Linked DNA regions of Homo sapiens: all the other regions are linked to region 1. The links are contacts of gene promoters, found by promoter capture Hi-C in blood cells and fetal thymus (Javierre and others, 2016). All regions are on one chromosome and are shown on one strand. The core of a region is centred on a gene start or on the middle of the fragment in contact, and the rest is flanking DNA. Distances in the headings are between cores, read along the strand shown.

Region 1 (3,521 bases), core at 341-2,840:
AAAAAAACAAAAACTGTATGCATAAATATTATAAATGCTAATAATTTATGAGACACTTCAAAATGCATATACAACACAAGAAAGACAGTTTAGTAAAAATTAGGGCAAAGGGAAAATAATGTTAGGAAAAATAAGATGAAGCCATAGATCATTTCTGGTTTTAAAATGCATGTCTAGGCTGGGCATGGTGGCTCACGCCTATAATCCCAGTACATTGGGAGGCCGAGGTGGGTGGATTGCTAGAGTCCAGGAGTTCAAGACCAGCCTAGGCAACATGGCGAAAGCCTGTCTCTACAAAAAAATACAGAAAAAAAATTAGCCAGGCATGCGGTCGTGCACCAGTGGTCCCAGCTACTTGGAGGCTACGGTGGGAGGATTGCTTGAGTCTGGGGACATAGAGGCTACAGTGAGCCATGATTGTGCCACTGCACTCTAGCCTGGGTGGCAGAGCAAGAACTTGTCTCAAAAATAAATAAATAAAAATATAATAAAATGCATGCCTAAAGGCAGGTCCTGAACTTCCTACTAACCAACACAAAGAATGCAACACACTAGTTACGTGATTCCTGAGGTTTTATTTTGGCCTTATTTTTCAGAACAACAACAACAACAATAACAACAACAAAACAATTGTCCCTAGTACTACAAGCTGAGAAAAATTCCTCCCATGGATCCTCAACAGAGGACTCTGTGCAATATAGTTACCTAACATAATGGCTAATGTTTAGTGAGAACTATTCAAGCATTTTGTCTACCTTGTTGCCTTCCCTTTCCCAAGAAGGGCTCTTCTGAGATGAGGAAACTAAGGCTCAGAGAAGTTCAGTAACTTGGCCAGGCCATACAGCTAATGAGTGGTGGTGCTGAGGCTTATTGAGTCTGTTGGTCATCTAAGTCCCTGCTGTTGACCACTGCTTTATGAACAATAACCCTGGAATAAATACAGTCAGTTCCACATGCTATTTCTTATAATGAGTTCAACAGCCAATGATAAAAATGTGTGTCAACAAAGGAGCAGGTTACCTTCAAACTGGAAGCCTAAAGCATTACTTGAAACACAACTTAAATTTCTTATATTCAATTCTTATTTTGTACTTCCTACTAGTAAATTACTAGGAATCAAAAAATATGGATGTTCTTTTTCAAGCTATAAATGTTTCTCTAGCAAATATAACAGGTCACATTTTCAAAATTCCGTGTTTTCCCTCTTATATAGATCACAGCTCTCACACAGATGATAAAGGGTTTTCTCACTGCCTGTGAGAATTAAAGTACAGTTGTCCATTATAGAAGCTTCTTTTTAAAATAGACTGCCATCTTTCATCAAATGTTTCAGCTCTGTGGAAAATAACTTAGGTTTTTTCCTACTCGCAAAAGAAATGTTTCCACTTGAAACCTGTTGGAAATATGGAATAGGCTATATAGTTCCATCAAAGAAAAGCTTATTACTTATTTGCATAGTATATTTCTTTTGTGTCAAGTTGAACAGTGGTATTAAGTGAATGCCCACAAAGCATCTTAAAGGCTAAGGAAGGATTACACTAAAGGCTAAGCTCTGAGACAGGTTTATGCACCTTGCAGGGCACTTTCCTTGGGCTTAACATCTTTTAGCCTATCTGTAGAGGATATCAGAGGGCAAAGTTTCTGTCATGAAATAGGACTAATCAACTTAGTTGAATTTGTATTTAAAGCAAGGTTAAACTGAATTAAGACCATTTTTGAAAGAATTGTCAGATGTACCTTTCAACCCGCAGCCAGAGAAGCTTCTGCAGTTGAAGGCCAGAAAGTCTTTGTATGGTTCTTCCATCTGCAATATCAAAGACAAGAAGTCTTCATAGAGGATGTAAGTATGTAACTCTACACATTGATTAGCCCAAAATTGAGGCCAGTTACTCTGAGTAAAATGTTTCACATATAAAATAAAAGGACATCTTTATCTTAAAGGAAATGCTTAGGTTTATGTGTAGACTTTACTGGCTATTACTAACAGTATGTGAGCTAATAAATTCCTACTTGACTGAAGTTACTAACGAGTAAAGATGATATACCACTCCTACCAAATAAACACTGCCTGGTCTTAGTTTTTGGAGTTTTTTAAGTGAAAGTAAAATGAAGTTTATTTAAGATAAAGTCAGTTCAAAGTTGTATGTAAATTTACTGTAGTTTTATTATCTTCAAACAGATGAAGTACCTACCTCTATGTATTACTGCTGTTTATTTACTATATATTATTATTTTAATGGCCCCCCATTACTATAGATATCTATATTCCAAAAATTGTCATGATGTATGAACCATGAAATGTCAGAGTAGAAAATTTCAGAAAAACATTGAGGAACAATCAATGATAATCATGAAATAAAATCTATATTGATATTCCTTAATTCATTCTTTAAGACTATCTAACTAAAACACCTACTATTCAGTTCCATTATATGAGTACTGCTAGAATTTCACTTTAGTCTCTACAGATTTATATATAATGGACTTTGCTTCACAATCTTTTGAAGAAAGTGAACATAATTTATACAAACTGTAGTTGCACATAAATTATATTGAGTCCAGTAGAAATTACATAATTTTGACTTCTTTAATGATGTCAAAGGTTTACCTTTTTCTTTACAATACTTGTAATTGTGCCTAGAACCTGACATTTCAAGAAGACATGGATAGGTCTAATGAAAATGAGCTTCCAGAGTAAAAAGAAATAAGAAGTGACAGCAGCCAGCACGTAACCCACTGTCTTCAATGCTTTCCAGGGTATGTGCTATGGTGAAATGCAGTTAGAAAAGTCCTAAAGCTTATGCCTTTAGGAAAAGTGAAATACATTTTAGCAGCACTGCCAAGTGCTTCGGTATGAACTGTCTTTCTAAAGTTCTCCTCCGTCCTTGGCAGAGATGGGAAGGGGAGCAAGATATGGAGGGACCCAGGAGAAGGCCTATTTGGGTTGTGCTCAGAGAGAGTTGGAGGAGATGGACTACAAAGGCCTCTGCAAAACATAAGTAGGAGGAATTACTTTGGAGTTGTTGGGGTACTGCCTAAGAGAAGGCCAAGAAAACTCGCAAGAAGCCAGGCCTGAATTGTAAAAATTGCTCTCATTTTAATTTAAGAATTTACATCTATTTATCTTACATTTATTTATCTCAGAACTGTGGAAACATTTAATTCTACTGATCTACTTTTCACATACAAAAACTTACCAGATACAGCAGTTACTTAAAAATTAATTCATTTTAATGTATGTAATCAGAAAACATGCATCATACATACCATAAATATTCTACATACGATTAGTCAAATATAGGGTTTTCCAAACTCAAATTGCACTGATTTTAATGAAAGATCACAGTATAGCCAATAACAGACAAATATAATAAAATTGGCACCCGGCTCCTGGGCACTGGGAAATCATTCCGTGAATATCTGCTGATTTGGCAAGGGCTTTAGTTCATGAAGTTCATGTCTTACTACTACTGCCCTAATCAGTTGAGACAGAATTAGCACTAGGTAAATCATCTATGTGC
Region 2 (3,521 bases), core at 615-3,114, 89 kb after region 1:
CCTTGGCCTCCCAAAGTTGTGGATTACAGATGTGACCTGCCATGTCCAGCCTGAAGCATCTTTTAAATGGGAGAAGCAAAACAGGATCTTACCAACACTAAGATTATCTTTCAGTCATTCAGCAAACATTTGTGGAGTGATTACTATGTGCTAAGCATTGTGCAATCACAAAACTCAAAAAGCTAGTTTAGTAAGAGAGACAAGTATTCATGCAAACAGTGGCAATGGTGTTGTGTAATGTCAAAAGTATCTGTGACGTGCTTATGAGATCACATAAGTGAATACCCAGCCCAGATTAGGAAGGTCAGGAAAGGCATCCCATAGAAGTATCATGAGCTAGATCTTGAAGAATGAGTGGGTATTAGCCAAGTAAAGACTAGGGGAATTTTGGGCCACTGCAGCAAGATGTGCAAAAATAAGACAGCAGAGTGAGCATGGCATCCCCTGAAACTGAAACTAGTTAAGGTGCAGCTGGAAAAGAGAAACGTTTAGAGAGGGATACAGGTGGCAAGTCATTGTTTGACCAGAATCCCTTCCTTTAGAAAATATTCCTTTCCCTTCTGTGGTGCTCCTCATTCCATTCCACGGTGACTGGCCTCAAGGATGAGCACTCAGTTCACACCAGGCCAATTGAAGTCTTCTCATTTACTCAGGGGTCTTGAATTCCAAGGACCATGTGGACCTGAAGAAACCAATGGCTATGCTGCCTTCACATGAATGGAGCCTGTCTAGAAATAGAACCAACATGAAAAAAACAGAACCAAGGGTGGATCAGGAAGACAAGGCCTTAATGCCATCTTTGAACTCCCAGATCTAGCCTGGCCTAAAGCCATCCCTGGGCTTTTCAGTTGCATGAGCCAACAGATTCATCATTTTTTCTCAGTTATTTTGAATGAGATTTCTGTCACTGGGAACTGAAAGATGACTGAGTTGCACACAGTAAGTATGAACAGTGACACTAAAATACCTTTGGAGCAGATTGACTCAAAGCAGGAGAGTGACACATTCAGATTTGCATCTTAGACTACACTAATCACATAGAAAATGGCATGGCAAGGAGCAAGGCTTAGATATTTTCTGGATACTTCCAGTATTTCTCAGATTTACACATTCTAACCACAACTCCCCTCTTGTTGTTAAAAACAATTTATTTTCTTATTACGGAAAAATCAGAAACTTATAAGCAAAAATAACCAGAAAACTCACAAACCTACTGTCTTAGTCCATTTTGTGTAGCTATAACAGAATACCACAGACTGGGTAATTTATAAAGAAAATAAACTGACAGGGCATGGTGGCTCATGCCTGTAATCCCACCACTTTGGGAGGCCAAGGCGGGTGGATCACCTGAGGTCAGGAGTTCGAGACCAGCCTGGCTAACATGGCAAAACCCCGACTCTACTGAAAATATAAAAATTAGCTGGGTGTGGTGGTGTGCACCTGTAGTCCCAGTTACTTGGGAGGCTGTGACAGGCGAATCGCTTGAACCCAGGAGGCAGAGGTTGCAGTGAGCTGAGATCACACCACTGCACTCCAGCCTGGGCAAGAGAGTGAGATTCTGTCTCAAGAAAAAAAAAAAGAAGCTTATTTGACTCATGAGTTTGGAGGCTGAGAAGTCCAAGAGCATGGCACTGGGATCTAGTGAGGGCTTTCATGCTGCATCCCATGGTGGAAGGCAGAAGGGCAAGACAAGATGAAAGCCAGTGAGCAAGAGGGGGCTGAACTGGCTTTTATAACAAGCCCACTCTCATGATAATAACAATGCATCTGTGAAGGCAGAGCCCTTATGGCCTAATCACCTCTTAAAGGTTCCACCTCTTAATATCATCACAATGGCAATTAAATTTCAGCATGAGTTTTGAGGGGGACATTGAAACCATAGCACCTACCTTCAGAGACAACTACTGTTAAAACTCATATATATCCTTCTATAGCTCTTATATGTGTAACATGTATGTCTCTGTTCACTGAGGTGAGGAGATAGTAAATAAATGGGATCATACCATGTATACTTTATATTAAGAGTATTCAGAAATTAACGATCTGGAAAAAGAACATGTTGTGTGGAACCAAAGACACCATTTTTTCAGAAGAACAAATTATTGACCAGCTTATGATTTTAAATTGTATTTCTGCTCACCAACTTCAAGCTTCAGATTGTGAAGTTATCCTTAGACTAAGTATATAGTAAATGCATGTTACAAAGTATTTCACATTACAGTGTTTTTAATGATCAACATTCGAGGGGATTAGAAGGAAGAATTTATTATTAACTTGCCATATCCTCAAATACATACACCTTTAACAATTATGGCACTTTGCACTGCAAAGAAAAAAATAAAGGGCAGTAACAAGTAAATTAGTACACAACAAGGCTCTTGAAAACAAGAGCAGTAACTGCAGAAACTGGTCTGTACTTACAGAGTCTGGACAATATCTGACAGACTGCACAGCTATAAAGAGTGGTTGGATACTATATAAAGCAAAGCAAGTTGCATCTCTATCCCATCTTTCTAGTTGCATATACTCCACAGGGTTCAATTACAAAATTGAAACCCTATTCTTAATAACTTTTTTTCTTATTGTCCTTTAATAAAAGAACCATCAGAATTCTCCACTTTTCAATCGCATATGCTGTCTTCTATCTCACCTTCCATCCCACCCCTAATTTAGTCTCCTTCCAAAGGACTGATTGCAAATTTCACTACTTAACAAACAACATATGCAGCCGGGCGTGGTGGCTCATACCTGTAATCCCAGCACTTTGGGAGGCCGAGGCAGGTGGATCATGAGGTCAGGAGATCAAGACCATCCTGGCCAACATGGTGAAACCCTGTCTCTACTAAAAATACAAAAATTAGCCGGGTGTAGAGGTGCACACCTGTAGTCCCAGCTAGTCGGGAGGCTGAGGCAGGAGAATTGCTTGAACCTAGGAGGCAGAGGCTGCAGTGAGCCGAGATCACACTACTACACTCGTCTGGGCGACAGAGCGAGACTCCGTCAAAAAAAGAAAACATATGCAAGATTCAGATGTCTCGTGCTTCCCTCTGCCTCCACCCAAAGTTTCTTATTAACAGTATTGGTGGGAGCATGACATGTTTGTTTGAACAGTTCCATCAATGCCAAGCCACGATTATACACGGATAATGTTCCTATAGAAGGGAACCAACTCCTGGAAAATGAGCTCGAATGTTCAGCCCCATTGCCACCTCACATTCTTTATTCCCCACCACACAGATTGAGAGGGATGCGGTGACCAGACAGAGGAATGCCATTGAGACTCCCAGCACAGACCGTAGACTGCTTTTCTCAGGAGGCAATGGCAGTTCTCTGCAATACTCAGAAGGCAAGTCACCTGAAGAATCTTAAAACTGGAGACCTGCTGCACAATCCTTTTCTTTCTTCATTCAGCCAACATTTACTGAGCCTCGACTATATGCTGAACAATAATATAAATGAGGAACCCACAGTCCCGGCTCAGAATCCGGGGAAGGAGCAAGGAAACCAGCGGCTGCCTGCAC
Region 3 (3,521 bases), core at 648-3,147, 65 kb after region 1:
AGCTTACAGCAATAAGACAGCTTTTGAAAGTTTATACATAAGATGTATACAAAGATAGACTGCCTTCATTTTCTTCAGTACGTGAGTAGGGAAAATAAATTCACAGGAGGAATTGTCAAAGAAGTTCAGAATGAAAGGGAATAAAGGGAAGATGGGGAATGAGAAACAATGAAGAAAATAATAGAAAATTTGGGAAAAGATATAGAAGAAAGAAAGCAGAGAAGGATTAAAACGGCCTTTCCAAAACGACTCTTTGTCAGTGCACTTCCATTAATCACCTCTTCAAATGAGATAGTAATAACTCTTTTTGCATTTTTCATTTTTGCCTCACCCTTACTGGAGAAGAGAAGATGAGAAAGACAGTCCCAGGAGTGTCTGGTATCTGCAGCCACAGGGGGAAAGGAAAGAGAATACAAATTGTCATTGTGTCAGTAGTTCTTATGGCTACCACATTGGGGGCAGCTGTCATTGATTAATTTGAGAACTCCTTCTGCGATCTGTTGTCCATTGTTCAGGATACATATCTTTGGCTGTTATTTTAACATTTATTTATGACACTTGTTTCTACTTACTTTGACATTTGGATACTCACTATTAGCAACATCTTATCTTTTTAATTACTGTTTTGTGGCTTATAAAAAGAGACTATAGGCCGGTGACGATGGCTCACGCCTGTAATCCCAGCACTTTGGGAGGCCTAGGCTGGCGGATCACTTGAGGTCAGGAGTTCAAGACCACCCTAGCCAACGTGGCGAAACCCTGTCTCTACTAAAAATACAAAAATTAGCTGGGCATGGTGGCAGGCACCTGTAATACCAGCTACTTGGGAGGCTGAGGCAGGAGAGTCACTTGAACTCAGGAGGCAGAGGTTGCAGTGAGCCGAGATCGCACCACTGCACTCTAGCCTAGGCAACAGAGTGAGACTCCATCTCAAAAAAAAAAAAAAAAAAGACCGTATAAGAATGAAAGTGAACTGGTACAAAGTAGTTACCATTGTGGAAAAAACAACTCAAATGCCTCATAGTTGAAGCCAAGAAGCAGACAGGCTTTGCCTCTATCAACTTATATTTGAAAAACGTAGTTTCTTTAAATCTCCATTTTTGTCTTTTGAATACTTTATTAGGTCGCTCCAGAGAAAGCTTGAAAGCAAGGCCTGTACTCCACTTGAAAAGATTCATAAAATAGATTTGTAAATTATTATTCAGCGCATGAATTTCTCAAGTATATGATTATACTAAATTAATATTCATATGTTGCAGGAAGTTGGTGAACCATCTAAAGAAGAGAAGGCTGTGGCCAAGTATCTTCGATTCAACTGTCCAACAAAGTCCACCAATATGATGGGTCACCGGGTTGATTATTTTATTGGTAGGATTATATCAGTAAAATCGTATTAGTGTACATATGTTATGAAGTTAACCTACATTTGGGATATGTAGAAGTTTTAAAAGTGCTTTCCAAATGTGATTGTTCTGGTGATGGACATATGGCAGTTGATTATTCTGTTCTTTTCTTTTATGATTGAAAATGTCTATAATAAAAAGATAACATGTTTTCTAATAACAATTGTTGGAAATTTTTTTAAATAGGATTTATTTTCAGTGTTTTAAAATACTACCTTTTGTTTAGATAGTATGCGTACTTGGAACTAAGAGCACTGGCTTTTTTTCCCCAAACAATGTCATTATAAGCTGATGTCATTTATAACACCAGAGCTTATAAGTAGGGGTTGAGTTTGCCTTTCTCATCAATTAAAAGTGAATTGCAGCTGGGTGTCGTGGCTCACACCTATAGTACCAACACTTTGGGAAGCCAAGGCAGGAGGGTTGCTTGAGGCCAGGAGTTCGAGACCAGCCTATGCAACACAATGAGACCCCATCTCTACAAAAAAATTAGATGAGTATGATGGCATGCGCCTCTGAAGTGAGAGGATGGCTTGAGCCCAGGAGTTAGAGGCTGCAGTTAACTATGATCCCACCACTGTACTCCAGCCTGGGTGACAGAGCAAGAACCTGTCTCTTAGAAGAAAAAAAAAACTAAATTGCCAGTGTAGAGGAAAAGTCCTTTATCGTCTCTTTCTTTACTGTTTTTAATGATTTGACATTCATTACAAGTTTTAAAAAGTAGATGTGCTAATCTCTTCAGATATAATATGTTTAGCTGTTTCTTGTGACAGCAGTGGATTGTTGACAGAGCTTCTTCCTCAGTGTATTAGAGTAAAACTTGATGAGAATTTTTATTACTTGCAGGGAGTGGTGAACATTTTGGTTTATCTACATATGCTTGTGATTAATAAGAGTGATAGTTACATACAGATATTTTAAATTTTTGAATATTTCCCCATTAATTTAACTTGCTTTAGTTGGTCTTTCTGAATGCCATTATTTCCCAACATTACTTTTAAAAGATACTTAATATAGTTCACAAGTTGAGGTTTTGGGGAACTACTAATCATGATCATGTTAGATTTAGTTTTCTGTTGAGTTTGGTTTTCTTTTTTGTTGCCAGAGTGTTGAAATTTTACTTTATAAAATATTATTTAGATAGACATAAATCCCCATGTATGCTAAATTTAAAATAATGAATTTCTTCTTTAGCTTCAAAAGCAGTGGACTGTCTTTTGGATTCAAAGTGGGCAAAGGCCAAGAAAGGAGAGGAAGCTTTATTTACAACCAGGGAGTCTGTGGTTGACTACTGCAACAGGTACTGTTTATTTCTTAGTGAAGAATAACATAATAATTTTAAATTTTCTTCATAGTCCTGAAGCTCCTTACATCATTAAATGTAGTGATACTACAACATAACTCAAATACTGTTTTCACATGTAACCTGATTTCTTTGGTACCTCTGGAAATGTGTTTGGTATTAGACTATTATACTTTTAACTGTATATAATTTTTATTTATGTTCTATTTTATATATTTGTGAGCCCTACTGAAGGGTCAGCAACAAAAGTCATATACCAGTGCCTACAGTAGAAAAGAAAGTTTTTTCTTTTGTAGAGCAAATTGGTTGAGGAGTCTTTTTTTCAAAACTTTTGCAGGAATTCCTATTAGCTGTGTTACCGCTACTTTTTTAGTGCCTGCACCCTGAGCCATAAGCCTCATACCCTTTCCTATTTGGTTCAGTGTTTGCTAATGTAGTATTTCTTCTAAAATCAAGGAAGCTGCAACATCTACCTTATCTTTTTCTGAGAATTTCAAGATGAAATACAGCTAATTCAGTAATATACATATATTTTTCATAATAGATACTTTTTCTGTTTTGAAAAAACTTTTGATGTTAAGTGGTTTACCTAAAAGACAAAATCACCTTCCTTTTGGAAGGAAGTATGCTGGTTTTTCTTTCCATTTCTTTTCTTTTTTTTCTTGGTTTACTTAATACTAAGCATTTTCTTAATATATGTTAACTAAATTTTGTTTTCATAACACTAAAGCTTATCTTTTGGGATTTTAGATTATTTTATGTGTACTAATATTTTATTTAATGGCACCTAAAGTATCAGCCACATAAGAACCCTC

Evidence for each region. The method cuts DNA at HindIII sites, captures the fragments that hold promoters and counts their contacts. A CHiCAGO score of 5 or more calls a contact.
Region 2: a fragment that was not itself captured here is called in contact with the fragment with the promoter of SAMD7 in region 1 in 2 of 17 cell types (naive B cells and total B cells); the score reaches 5.6 in naive B cells.
Region 3: a contact is called between a fragment that was not itself captured here and the fragment with the promoter of SAMD7 in region 1, in 2 of 17 cell types (total B cells and naive B cells). The highest score is 5.4, in total B cells.

What each region holds. Positions count from the first base shown.
Region 1 is chr3:169,909,982-169,913,502 of GRCh38, forward strand. SAMD7 (sterile alpha motif domain containing 7) reads left to right here and starts at 1,591. Exons shown (of 9, transcript NM_001304366.2): 1 at 1,591-1,840. The HindIII fragment of the contact is 322 bases long and covers 1,437-1,758 here.
Region 2 is chr3:169,998,638-170,002,158 of GRCh38, forward strand. No RefSeq gene overlaps it. Among named protein-coding and RNA genes, the nearest start is that of SEC62, 34 kb to the left of the region's middle. The HindIII fragment of the contact is 567 bases long and covers 1,582-2,148 here.
Region 3 is chr3:169,974,349-169,977,869 of GRCh38, forward strand. It overlaps SEC62 (SEC62 preprotein translocation factor), which reads left to right. Exons shown (of 8, transcript NM_003262.4): 2 at 1,260-1,368; 3 at 2,598-2,703. Among named protein-coding and RNA genes, the nearest start is that of SEC62, 9.3 kb to the left of the region's middle. The HindIII fragment of the contact is 1,521 bases long and covers 1,138-2,658 here.